3 separate regions of the Homo sapiens genome follow, and all the other regions are linked to region 1. Evidence: promoter capture Hi-C in human tissues and cell types (Jung and others, 2019). All regions are on one chromosome and are shown on one strand. The core of a region is centred on a gene start or on the middle of the fragment in contact, and the rest is flanking DNA. Distances in the headings are between cores, read along the strand shown. Region 1 holds the start of MFSD8 (major facilitator superfamily domain containing 8). Region 2 overlaps LARP1B (La ribonucleoprotein 1B). Region 3 overlaps LARP1B (La ribonucleoprotein 1B).

Region 1 (4,606 bases), core at 1,189-3,688:
CAATGGAAAAGAGCAGTGTCAGAGGGCTGGGATTCCTCTACCAGCTGTGTGACCTTGAGTAAGCCACCTTAACCTATAAACAGAAAGTAATATCTGCCCTGATACATGATAGCCAATTATTTCACTTAGATAAAAACTGAATATCTACTATATATTTTTATGAGATATAAGGAAAGATTCTTCTTGCCGCTTTGCCATTTTTTCCCATAAGAAGCCTGGTGGTAAAGAGCACAGGCTTAGGATCAGGAGTCCTGCATTTCTTGAATTCTAGCTCTGTTGCTTGTTAGTAGTATGATCCTAGGCAAGTTACTTAATCTCCCTGCCTTCCATTTCCTTGTACACATGAGACAATTCCCCCCTCAGAGGATTGTTGTAAGGATGAGATGAAGTAATTCAATGAGCATTCATCCAACATATATTTATCTAGGAGCCATTCTGCTTACTGCTATACTGGTTAAAAATCCCCTTGTCCACTATATATGTGCCATACATTGCTAGCCCCCAGGAATTAAAAAAGACAATATAATAAAGCGACATTATGGCAAGAAAATACTAACTTTTCTACCTATGTGTCTTTTTGGAACCAATAATACAAATCTGACTTGTTTTTGTGAGCTGTTACAAATGAATCTGCAAGACTGAATCCAAGTACAAAATATCAGGTCTTGATTTAGAAGATATTTCTGAATAGCACGTTTCAAGGTTTTTGGTTTTTTTTTTTTTTTTGAGACAGAATCTCACTCTGTTGCCCAGGCTGGAGTGCAGTGGCGTGATCTCGGCTCACTGCAGCCTCCGCCTCCCGGGTTCAAGGGATTCTCCTGCCTCAGCCTCCCGAGTAGCTGGGACTATAGGCGCCCGCCACCACGCCCGGCTTTTTTTTTTTTTTTTTTTTTTTTTTTTTTTTTTTTGTATTTTTAGTAGAGACGGGGTTTCACCGTGTTAGCCAGGATGGTCTCGATCTCCTGACCTCGTGATCCGCCCGCCTTGGCCTCCCAAGGTGCTGGGATTACAGGCATGAACCATCGCACCCAGACCGCACGTTTCAAGTTTAGGTGTTCACCAGTGAACTGCGCCTGGCTGATACACACAAGGTCACAAATGACACAAAGATCAGAAGTGATGGCATATACCATACATGACTGTGTAACTAGTATAGGACCTAGCATAGGGTAAATGCTCATAAATATTAATTTAAAAAAATTAAGTTTGGTTTCCAACTTTGCCACTTCCACACAGAGTGACTCTGGGTTAACTTGTCTGGATCTTAATTTTCAGTAAACTAGCAATGTGTCTGCTTCGCCTATCTCATAGGATACTTGTGATCAAATGAAATTACATGACAATGTATCTGGCGCTAATAAAACGGTAATTTATGAGACACAGAATGACTACTGACGCCAGCTAGCCTACAAGCCTAATAGTAGAGATAAGATGTTAATACATAACCACCAAGAAATAAACATGGAGATCTAGTGAAAACCCATGACATGTTTTCTAAAAATGTCATCTTCCTTGTGACGAAAGGAGCTGGTCATTGCTAGGCAGGTGCTGTACCTTTTTCAACTCCCACGTTTCAGCAGCAGGCTCTGCTGAGTGACATTTTGCAAGGCTGAGGCCCCCGTAGGCGCAGGCGCCGTTGGGGTGCGCATCCGGGGACCTGCAGGTTACAAGCAGCAGATCCCACCTTCAGTCCTGGCTCTGACAAGCCCTCCAGGTAAGGCGCCTTTGCATTTAGCCGAGCTAGAGAAGAGAGCTGGAAGCCACCTCTACCTTTCACGGGGGGAAGGGACTGCCCGCGCGCTCGCCCCCATTATCTCAGCCCTCCGAAGCGCGCCACGGACTCCAGCCTTGTCTCTCACCCCCAGCCTCACCCCGCGTCCCTGACCCGCGAGTCTCCCGCCCAGCTCCGCGTCCCCGGTCCCTGCCTCCAGGCGCGTACACGGCGCGCTAAGAGGCGCGGGGAGCTCTTAGCGCACCTACTACTTAACCGGACCGGCTACTTACTGGCCGCCAGGTGGAAGCCTGCGATCGAGCTGGCCGGGCCTCCCAGCACCGCCGCTCTCCAGGCTCCCTTTCCAGGACTCAACTTTGGTCCCAGCCCCAATCGCAGCTCCGGTAACCTTTCCAGGAACCGAAATGCTAGATACAGCGGAAGGAGAAACGGAGGGAGGAAGACAAACCCGGAGCAGGGCGGCGCGGCAGTTTGGACACGCCCCGAGCTCTCCTGGGCTCTCAGTCCCCGTCAGGATGGGAGGCGCGTGCCGAGGGAGGAGGCTGAGGACACAGCCTCCTTTCGCCCTGCGCTGCCCGGCCTTCCGCGTGACCCCGCCTATGACCTCGGGGCGTTCCGCCTACGTCTGACCGTCAGGTGCGCACGCGCACTTACAGGCTTGTTTTGCCAGCTTCACGCCACCCGGGATGGGAGAAAGCAGGTGTCGCGAGAGTTGGGCGCAAGACGCCTTGTAGGGAGTGTAACTATGGCCGGCCTGCGGAACGAAAGTGAACAGGAGCCGCTCTTAGGCGACACACCTGGAAGCAGGTGAGCGGATCCTGGTGGAGGGACCCCTCAGTCTCCTGCGCTGTTGGGACTGGTTCCTTTCCGGGCGTCACCCGCACTGGGACAAACCCTCGCTGCCAGAGGGGTTCCAGCGCGGTGGGAGCCGGTGGCTGGGTTGTGTGAGCCGAGGAGATTCGCTCCCAACGTAGGAGAAAGGGCGTCTGGCCGCACCGTGCGGTGATGAGCCCGTGGGTTCGAGTGACGGGGCTGGAGAAACCCAGGCTGCTGCTTTGCCTGTTGCAGCACCCAAGCTGAGAGGTGACAGCGTGCTGGCAGTCCTCACAGCCCTTGCTCGCTCTCCAGGCCTCCTCTGCCTGGGCTCCCACTTTGGCGGCACTTGAGGAGCCCTTCAGCCCACCGCTGCACTGTGGGAGCCCCTTTCTGGGCTGGCCAAGGTGGGAGCCGGCTCCCTCAGCTTGCAGGGAGGTGTGGTGGGAGAGGCGTGAGCGGGAACCGGGGCTGCGCGCCGCGCTTGCGGGCCAGCTGGAGTTCCGAGTGGGCGTGGGCTTGGCGGGCCCCGCACTGGGAGCAGCAGGCCGGCCCTGCCGGCCCCGGGCAATGAGGGGCTTAGCACCCGGGCCAGCGGCTGCGGAGGGTGTGCTGGGTCCCCCAGCAGTGCCAGCCCACTGGCGCTGCGCTCGATTTCTCGCCGGGCCTTAGCTGCCTTCCCGCGGGGCAGGGCTCGGGACCTGCAGCCCGCCATGCCTGAGCCTCCCACCCACTCCGTGGGCTCCTGTGCGGCCCGAGCCTCCCCGATGAGCGCCGCTCCCTACTCCACGGTGCCTAGTCCCATCGACCACCCAAGGGCTGAGGAGTGCGGGTGCACGGCGCGGGACTGGCAGGCAGCTCCACCTGCAGCCCCGGTGCGGGATCCACTGGGCGAAGCCAGCTGGGCTCCTGAGTCTGGTGGAGACGTGGAGAACGTTTATGTCTAGCTCAGGGATTGTAACTACACCAATCGGCACTCTGTATCTAGCTCAAGGTTTGTAAACACACCAATCAGCACCCTGTGTCTAGCTCAGGGTTTGTGAATGCACCAGTCGACACTCTGTATCTAGCTACTCTGGTGGGGCCTTGGAGAACCTTTCTGTCAACACTCTGTATCTAGTTAATCTAGTGGGGACGTGGAGAACCTTTGTGTCTAGCTCAGGGATTGTAAACGCACCAATCAGCGCCCTGTCAAAACAGACTACTCGGCTCTACCAATCAGCAGGATGTGGGTGGGGCCAGATAAGAGAATAAAAGCAGGCTGCCCACCAGTAGTGGCAACCCGCTGAGGTCCCTTTCCACAGTGTGGAAGCTTTGTTTTTTCGCTCTTTGCGATAAATCTTGCTACTGCTCACTCTTTGGGACCATACGGCTTTTATGAGCCGTAACACTCACCGCGAAGGTCTGCAGTTTCACTCCTGAAGCCAGCGAGACCACGGGGAGGAACGAACAACTCCAGACGCGCCGCCTTAAGAGTTGTAACACTCACCACGAAGGTCTGCAGCTTCGCTCTTGAGCCAGCGAGACCACGAACCCACCAGAAGGAAGAAACTCTGAACACATCTGAGCATCAGAAGGAACAAACTCCAGACGTGCCACCTTAAGAGCTGTTAACACTCACCGCGAGGGTCCGCAGCTTCATTCTTGAAGTCAGTGAGACCAAGAACCCACCAATCCCGGACACAAAGCCACCACATTCTGTATCTTCTGCATTCCATATTTGGCCCTTTGTAGCTGATCACTTTCCAGATTTCACAGTTTCAAAATGATGGTTTTAATAGATACTTGAAGGTATCGGTCTTAGTAATGACCTGCTGCCTAATTGCCTGACAACCTCTTGATAGTTTAACAAATCTGTCCAAAATGAGCTCGCCTTTGTCCTATGCCAAATGTACAAAGAAAGACTAATTTTAAGGCATTAAAGGAATAACGTCAGTATTTTGATCCTTATAATTCTGGTTGTTCTGATCCTAGTTTATGGGCAGTGACTCGGGAATGTATACCTAATGTATTTTTACCTTTAGGAAAACGGAATTACTATTTTATTTGAAATATACATAA
Region 2 (4,606 bases), core at 716-3,215, 200 kb before region 1:
ACTTCTTTGTTCTAGCTTATTTTATACATCCCTTTTTTATTTTTTTATTTTTTCCTATATTTTTAGATTAACACATTTTGTCACATGTAACATTAGTTCTTTCATTTTCCACTGCTGCCTATTTTTCCTACGTATGACTACACCACATCTTATAATACATTCTACTATAACTGGGCATTTTTTAGTTTTCATTTGCTTTTTTCTATTATGAACAATGATACTACAAATGTTCTCTTGGTAAACATTTGCAACAGTATGCCCAGGCTGGTCTCAAACTCCTGGGCTCAAGTGATCCTCCTGCCTTGGCCTCCCGAAGTGTTGGGATTATAGGCATGAGCCACAATGGCCTGCAACAGTATCTCTTGAAATGAAACTGCTGGGTTATAATATGGCGTATTGCTATGGTTTTAATTGGAAAACCTCAGTAAAAATAGCCTCTTTTCATATTTATTGGCCATTTGGTCTTCCCAAATATGAAACTGATGTTCATGTTTCATTTACTACTTTTTCTATTCATGTTTGCCATTTTTCATATTAATTTTTAAGGTTTTAGATTTCTATGATATTAATTCTTTGTTAATGTCATGCAATGCCAAATTTATCTCCTTATTTGTGACTTGTATGCTTTCTATGATGTGCAAAGGAATATACATTCTCAATTTTAAAGTATTCAAATTTAACAAGGCAAAAAATCCAGCAATTTAACTGAACAGCCCTAGTGGGACACACTAAGAACTTTAAAGAAAGCTTTAAAGTATGAAGTTTTTAAAAGTTTACAGTTTAAAGAACTCTAAAAGAAGTTACCTTTCAGTATTTATAATATTATTATTTAATGTTATTGTTATTCTGGAACTATTATATCATAGGATTAGCAAATAAATAATTATGTTACTGTGGTTAGGAAGAAAGATTTTTTATATATAAGTAAAAAGCAATACAACTACAAAATCAAAGAAATTAAAATTAAAACCTATAATCTTAAATTTAGACAGAAAATATCAACATGAATACGTAATATATTTTTCTCCTTAAAAAATTTCCTAGCTCTTTCTATTCAAAAGGCCTAGAAACAAGGACCAACTGAGTAGCAGATCCGGTACTGACAAAGCTCAACCTTGGTGGGGGCTCAACCTTCTGTGGGGTGGGAAACATTAAAGTTAACAGTCCAACTCCATTATTACTGAGCAAGAAAATGAAAGGTGGCTTTAGAGCTAAAAGTCAATAAACTGATAACTGGCATAGGTATCAATAATAATAATAATAACTGTAATAGAATGAAACCCATCTCATGTATTTATGAGTTCACAATGATCATTTAAAAACAAACAAACAAAAACTTCATTAGTCACCAGCGAAGAATGTTAAGGAACCAGCTAGTACTTTGAAACTAGTAAACAAAGGGAAATAATTCAGCACTGACTCACTTTCCTGTAAGAACTCTATCTCAGAATAAATAAATATTCTGGGGAAAGTTCTCTTTATAAAAGTATTCTACCTATTAAGGTAAGACGTAATGATTAAAAATAGAATCATCACTATTTTGCAACCCCTAGTAAAATAAAAGCTTCACTCACTGATCATCAATGACTGCTAACATTACAAAAAGAGACAATAGAGCATTATGTATCTCCTAATAGTATTCAATACTACATATGACATATTCTTACAGAGATTTGAGTCTTAATCTAATCAAGTCTCTATGCTGAACTAACAGTTATAGATAATTCAGGACTAGAAAACAGGTTAAATGAAACCATGGGGATGCAATCAGCAAAATTCAGAATGTGAAAAATTCTACAAGACAAACAACCCAGTTTCTTCAATACCAAATTGCAAGGACCAATAAATTATAAGGCAAAAAATAGTAGAAACCTGTAGACTAAAAAAGACATATCAATCTATTGCAATCTATTTGAAGAAACTGGAAAAAAAAAGTGATGAATGAGGAAATTTGAACACTAGATATCTAACGTTAAGGAATTACTGTTAATTTTAGATATGATAATGTCCTGCTATTTATGTGTTAAAAGATATAGCCCTTATCTTTTTAAAGACACATACAGAAATCTTTAAGGACAAAAAAATATGAATCATGTGATTGAGAATTTGTTTAAAAATAATCCACAGGGAGGTATAGGAGTTACTGGAGTCGAGACAAAATTGGGTATGAGATGATTAAGTATAGCAGGTACATGGGAGTTTTATTATAAAATTCACTCTATCTTTGTATATGTGTGACTTTTTATAAATCATTTTTTTAACCACCTTCAGGAAAAGGCTATAATAAAATCAGTTATACTTGTCTGAAATGTCAGATTCAATTTATGGATCTCCCAATGTATTTATTTACACTCTCACACAGAGCTAAGCCCTTAAAACAAAAGAATGACTCTAGCGCATTCTAAGGATCAGTGAGTCAGTGAAAAATTTTATTTTGGGAAGAGAAACATTCCCAGCAATCTTAAAATCACATCAGATACATAAAGAACCAACAAATTCTGCCTACTTCTAAGTAAGCCTCTGGCTTTGAGCATAATCTGGTGTGATAATAGAAGTTCACAAAAGGATAAAAGTTGAGTTTTAAAATTCTAGCATTTTACCATTTACCTAATGATTTTCCACAAATAAAGAAAAAAAAGGAGCAATTTTTAAAAACAATTCAGAACTGCTTTAATACTATTCAGACACTTACACAAAAGCAGATTTACATACCTTGCCTGGACTGTGAAGGTGCTACAGGAACTTCTTGGTTTGGCTCAAAAGGAAGTTCAGGTGTTAGGTTTTCAAACTGCTCTTTACTAATGAGATTTAGCTTCTTAAAGTTCTCAACTTCTTGCTGAAGTAGAATGGAGGAATCTAATTACTAAACTGGCTAACAGAGTAACCAACAGACAATAATTGATACCAACCTCAAAAAAATGAACTTCTAAAACAGGGATTAATTACAATGGAGTGAAAAAGACGTTCTAATAAAGAGTCTAGCATTATACTTAATAACAACATTCAGAATCTAAGAGGCATATAACACCCTAAAATATTATAATGATTTTATAATTAAAAAACATTATAAGACCACACATACTAATCATTAATTATTTGTTGAGCATTTACATACAAGACTACCAGGTATTACAGACGTTACAAAGTAATCTAATACATGTTCCCTACCATTAAGGAATTTATATGTTAGATGAAAAGGAAGAAATGAACACATAAAAATAAATAATATTAGGTAGTATGTGAAGAGCGATATTGGTGTAAGAATTACGATCATCAGGAAGCCATCACAGGAGAGATGGGACAAAAGCACCTCTTGAAGGATGAGAATTTAGAGAAAGGGAGAAACATTCTAAATAGGTAATGAGAGCAAAGATAAGAAGCTTGGAAAAAGCAATGTGTTTATTACAAAGTAATTAAGTGACTAAGAAAATCTGTGTAGAACCAGTGGCAAAGAGGACTGATGAGGAAGTTGGAGAAAGCTACTAGAAGACCTTTAATACTGGGTCAAGAAGATTTCACTTTGTTTTATAATAATGGGATGCATGTGATAAAGATAAATCTGGATGGCCCTGGATAGCTGCAGCAAAGAGACTCAGTATATTTGAGTTGTTAGCTCAAAGGAAGAATAGACCCCTCCCTGCCTCTGGGGTTCTGGAGGCTTCCCCTTTGTAACTACTATTGCATAGTCACTTAAGTGTTTCCGGCCCTGACCTACAAATGTGTGGAGCATTACAGAGGGTAGAGGTCATTCTCTACTGGAAGTTCACTTGGCCACAGGTGAACTTAAAGGTTGAACCCTAAAGGTTGAACCCTATGGTTCACCCAGGTGAACCATAAAGACCCTCTATGTCTGGCCTAAACTGTGAGATAAAAAAGGAGTTTGAGGGACTGCTTACACTCCACTATTTCTTCTAAGTTTTTCCCAATAAAACCCTATATCACATCTACTCCACATGGTACTAATGGGTACATGAATCTTTACAGGGCAACATCCAAAGCGGGTTTAAGCAAGTAAAAAACATAAGAAAGAATTTTTCGGGTTGAAGCAAATTTAAAACAGGAAGGAAATTAAATATCATTACAAAATAGTTGTAGCTTGCTCTTAATAACAAAAGAATCTTTTCCTTCTGTCTTCAAAGATGAAGTCACTTGTCAGCTCAAACCATTTATTAAATCCCAATGTTAGCCTTTTAGATTATGATCTTTTTTCACTAAAGTACCTTTAATTACATCAAAATGTATATTTATCAACATTTCTTCCTCAAAAGTTTTCAATAAGCTCTTCAGGCTAAATCAGAATCATTGCTCACTCCTCTTGTCCTTTATCTTGCTACAGAGCTTGCTATTAGCAACTCCCAATTCTATAAATAATTATTGTATGTTTACTACATGCCAGAGATAAATAACACAATTCTACCCTGATGGAAACACAAGTTGTGTATGTTTTTGTTTATTTTTATTTTTAACTAATTCATTAATGTATAACATACACACACACACACACACAAGAAGTGTACAAATCATAAGTATATATCTCAATGAATAATCGAAGGTAAACAGACTTAATCACCATTCAGGTAAAGCAATTATTAGCACCCTAGAAGCT
Region 3 (4,606 bases), core at 1,571-4,070, 180 kb before region 1:
CCCACCATTTTGAATTATTTAGAGATTGTATTTTCAATTGTCAGTCATGTTCACTACCAAATTCCCAGCTTCCAACATTGTTTGGTACACAGCAGACACTCAAATATATGTTAATGAATGAATCCCTGGCAGAGTCAATTTATTATAAGGCTGCCATATTTGAAATATAGTACTAACTTGTGCAAGGGATTATGGCTAGAATTTACATAATGAGGCAAAACTTGAAATCAGGTCTCTTTTTTTTGAAACGGAGTCTTGCTCTGTCACGGAGTGCAGTGGCATGATCTTGGCTCACTGCAACCTCCACCTCCCGGGTTCAAGTGATTCTCCTGCCTCAGCCTCCCGAATAGCTGAGACTACAGCTGTGTGCCACCACACCCAGCTAATTTTTACATTTTTAGTAGGGATGGGGTTTCACCATGTTGGCCAGGATGGTCTCAATCTCTTGACCTCATGATCAGCCTGCCTCGGCCTCCCAAAGTGCTGGGATTACAGGCGTGAGCCACCGTGCCTGGCCTCTAAAATCAGGTCTCTTGATTCACTTGACTCTCCAGCAGAAAGAACTTTAGTTCAAAACCATTTCTAAAGAGAGAGTGACTACAGTTAACTTGAGAGCTCACGTTGTCCATGAAAGGAAAGCGATCTGAGAAGTCTTTCAGAGTAAGGTGTTAGGAAGAGTGTAAAAGAATTTTGTATTTTGAAATATACAACATAACCCAGGCACAGTGGCTCACGCCTGTAATCCCAGGACTTTGGTAGGCCAAGGCGGGCAGATCACCTGAGGTTGGGAGTTCGAGACCAGTTTGAGAAACATGGAGAAACCCCGTCTCTACTAAAAATACAAAATTAGCCAGGTGTGGTGGCGCATGCCTGTAATCCCAGATACTCGGGGGGCTGAGGCAGAAGAATAGCTTGAACCCGGGAGGCAGAGGCTGCAGTGAGCAGAGATCGCGCCATTGAACTCCAGCCTGGGCAACAAGAGCGAAACTCCATCTCAAAAAAAAAAAAAAAGAAAGAAATATACAACATAAGAGGACTAATAATGGAACTGTGGCACCTGGAAGAACTCCACAGACTGTACTTTGATGGCACAGTTTCTATGTAAAGGCTGCCTAAGCTTCTACATTCCTTAAATTCCTGGTCTTTCCTCCATTTGTAGCATTGTTTCTGGTCCCACATAACCATCTGGTCTTTGTTCTTTCTTCATATATGCCCAGTTTTTTACAGTTTTCAAATTCTTTACAACCTCATGAGGTGGACAGGGTAAGAATGATCCCCACCTGAGATTCACAGAAGTTAGGTGTTGGTCCAGAACTGCACTCCCAGTGGAACTTGCACATAGTTGACTGCTGGTCAAGAACAGGCTTTGCCAGACAGGTTCTCAACTTGGTGCACTTCTCTAATGAGAAAAGGTCAGCTCAAGTGGTGGTGAGGAGACAGGAAGTTTACATGACTCTCCTCTTGACAAGTCAGTATGAAGCTATTGTTTCTGTCTGCCAGCCATCTCCTGATAAATGTGTACAGCATGTCCACCTTTATACCAAATACTCTGCCACAACTGAAGTTCCTTTCACTATCTGAAATAAATACAGGTAAGGACTTGCCTCATTTGTAAGGGGGAATGCTGCATAAGAGAGTGAAGTAATCAGCAAAGTCAAAGTGAATGAGAGCTATCCAGTCTTCCAAGGCTCAAGGACCCCAATAATTCCAGAATGCTGTCTGGGTCAAGGCAGAAGAAAGCCACTAGAGGTACGCTTTCTTGTTGAGAGTGTAACCTCTCAACAACGTGCTTGCTGATGGTCTCAATCATCTAACAACTGGAAATGTTCTCTCAAATACCACAAAGCTAAGTACCTCCAAGAAAAATTCTGGGAACTGATGTTTAGGCCACCAGTGAGGAGTGTTAAGTTCACCTGATAATACTATAAGTAGTACTGGACAAAACTGGTATATTTCACTACTGTAAATGCAATGAGCCTAACGATGAGATTAAGTGACTAGCAGATGTGATTCATAAGTTTCAAATTTGAAGGTTCTTCCTAAAATGTTGGAGATAAACACATTAGCATATTTGAGTTTCTACACAAGCAACTTGGGCAGAGGATAGAATACTGAGCAACTCGTTGTAACGTGTTTCTCTCTTATTCTGTAGATACAAATTAAACATTTATAGTTAGGGGAAGGTATCATGAGATAGTGGACCAGGAAATTCCTGAGCTCATGAGCCCAGACGCTAGCCAATGATACCAATGATAAGATGTAAAGGCCTATCAGCACATTTTTGGAATGGACGTCTGATCTCTACATCCTATGTTAACAAAGTCTTCAATACTGTACAGATTTATACCACTCAAGCAGACCACTGGAAAGGAAGACAAATAGCTGGACGCAAAAAAGCAGAGACAATTGGCCAGGTGCGGTGGCTCATGCCTGTAATCCCAGCACTTTGGGAGGCCGAGGCAGGTGGATCACGAGGTCAGGAGTTCAAGACCAGCCTGGCCAAGATGATGAAACTCCATCTCTACTAAAAATACAAAAATTAGCCAGGCATGGTGGTGCATGCCTGTAATCCCAGCTACTTGGGAGGCTGAGGCAGCAGAATCGCTTGAACCCGGGAGGCGGAGGTTGCAGTGAGCCGAGATCACGCCACTGCACTCTAGCCTGGGCGACAGAGCAAGACTCTGCCAAAAAAAAAAACAGAGACAATTAACCTACCTTGACTTTAGACCAAGGAACAACAATGTGGCAGCTTCAAGAAGTAAATAAATCAGCTTTGGCTTGCCTCTTTTGTACTACCCATCCCCCTTTAATTCTAGCCTTTTAGTATTGTTATGAAATATGTCTCCTAGAATAATGCATAAAATATACATGTGCAACTTATAACGCATTCATGTAACAACTACCAGAAACACAACTGTTAGTATTTTAGAAACTTCTGAGGATCCTACACCTCCCCCCAGCCCCCACAATGAACAAATTCTGACTTACGTAGTAATTATTCCAGGTTTTTCTTTATGCAACCATCTATATACGTTAAGTGTACCTAAAAAATCATGTTTCATTTGATCTGTTCTTGAGTTTTGTGGAGTCATATTGTGTATGAACCCTCACTTCTTTCATTCAGCATTGTTTTCTAGATGTATTCATAAAGATGTGTATGGCAATCATTTTTTTCTCTACTATATAGCTACTTTTCACTACTATAATGATGACATAGTCAGCTACTGATAGATACTTCAAATATTTTCAATTTGTGACTATAATGAATTATTCTGCTACATTATTACATACTGCTCCTGGTGAACACATCTAAATTCCTCCAGGGTAGTGCCAGCCAATACAAACACAATGTAATCTTAAATTTCCCATAACTACAAAAAATATACAAGATGTACATTTTAAATAATCTATTTCGACATGCAATAATTATTAAAATTTGAGATATTTTATATTCCTTTTTGTTACTAAGTCTTCAAAATCCAGTATTTTACATTTAAAACACATCCTATTTGGACTAGCCACATTTCAAGGGCTCAATAACTACATGTGGTTAATGTCTACTAAACAATGCAACTCGAGAATATATTCCTGAGTGGAAATGGTGGATCATAGCATATGGTTTACCATTTTTTATTCCCACAGATTGAGGTTCTTGCTCCAAATACTCCCAAACTCTACTTACCATCTGATGTCTTAACATTGCTAATATAAGTTTTATGAACTATTTCATTGAAATATTTTCATCTCCTTGACTAATAATGTTGAACATCTTTTCATGTTCTCAGTCATTTAGACTTCTTCTTTTGTAAAAAGTTTGTTCATGTCTTATAAGCAGTATACTGAATCTTTTGTGTGTGTGTGTGTGTGACAGTCTCACTCTGTCGCCCAGGCTGGAGTGCAATGGCACGATCTTATACTGTTTTTTTGTTTTTTTTTTTAACAGTTATACAGTTACAAGCATTTAGTAAATCTACTTTATGGATTCTTTTCTTCTATTTTAAGAGATGGGCCTCACTATATTGCCCAGGCTGGAGTGCAGTGGCCATTCACAGGTGCACACTACATCGCAGCTGTGATCATCACACACTACAGCACTGAATTTTTGGGCTCAAGGGATCCTCCTGCCTTAGCCTCTAGAATAGCTGGGACTACAGGTGCACAGCACTATGCCTGACTTACAGATATTCTTTAATGCCTAGACTGTTACTGGTTTGGGGACTTTTTATGCTTCTTAAAAAAACTGATATATGTATATTAGTTGTACATACTTCTGGGGTACATGTGCCATTTTGATACCTGTATACAATGTGTAATGATCACATCAGGGTAATGGGGATATCAATCACCTCAAATATTTTTCTTTATTTTCTTCTATTTTTTTCTTTTTTATTCAAGTGATCACAATCTTTCTTCAATCCGTTAATGTGAATTTCCTTTACTAACTTTTCTTATGTACAATTAATCCATGATCTTGAAATGAACACAACTTGGTTATCTGTTTTTTAAAAAACTGCTATATTTGGTTTACTAAAATATTGTTTAGACCTTTTTAAATTATTATTATTATTTTTTGAGAGTCTCACTCTGTCACCCGGGCTGGAGTGAA

Evidence for each region. Contacts are between HindIII fragments. The study calls those that stand out against the background at their distance.
Region 2: a contact is called between a fragment that was not itself captured here and the fragment with the promoter of MFSD8 in region 1, in 2 of the 25 tissues and cell types used here (IMR-90 fibroblasts and aorta).
Region 3: a contact is called between a fragment that was not itself captured here and the fragment with the promoter of MFSD8 in region 1, in 2 of the 25 tissues and cell types used here (H1 embryonic stem cells and spleen).

Annotation. Positions count from the first base shown.
Region 1 is chr4:127,963,005-127,967,610 of GRCh38, reverse strand. MFSD8 (major facilitator superfamily domain containing 8) reads left to right here and starts at 2,438. Exons shown (of 12, transcript NM_001371596.2): 1 at 2,438-2,539. The coding sequence starts at 2,478. It overlaps ABHD18 (abhydrolase domain containing 18), which reads right to left and starts at 2,205. Exons shown (of 13, transcript NM_001358451.3): 1 at 2,005-2,205. RefSeq lists enhancers at 326-825, 826-1,327, 2,006-2,621, 2,212-2,631 and silencers at 1,722-1,951, 3,072-3,121, 3,132-3,261, 3,372-3,481. The HindIII fragment of the contact is 8,084 bases long and covers 1-4,606 here.
Region 2 is chr4:128,160,424-128,165,029 of GRCh38, reverse strand. It overlaps LARP1B (La ribonucleoprotein 1B), which reads right to left. Exons shown (of 20, transcript NM_018078.4): 12 at 2,713-2,836. Among named protein-coding and RNA genes, the nearest start is that of LARP1B, 100 kb to the right of the region's middle. The HindIII fragment of the contact is 4,054 bases long and covers 1-3,992 here.
Region 3 is chr4:128,138,916-128,143,521 of GRCh38, reverse strand. All of the region lies in intron 11 of LARP1B (La ribonucleoprotein 1B), which reads right to left. Among named protein-coding and RNA genes, the nearest start is that of LARP1B, 80 kb to the right of the region's middle. The HindIII fragment of the contact is 6,686 bases long and covers 1-4,606 here.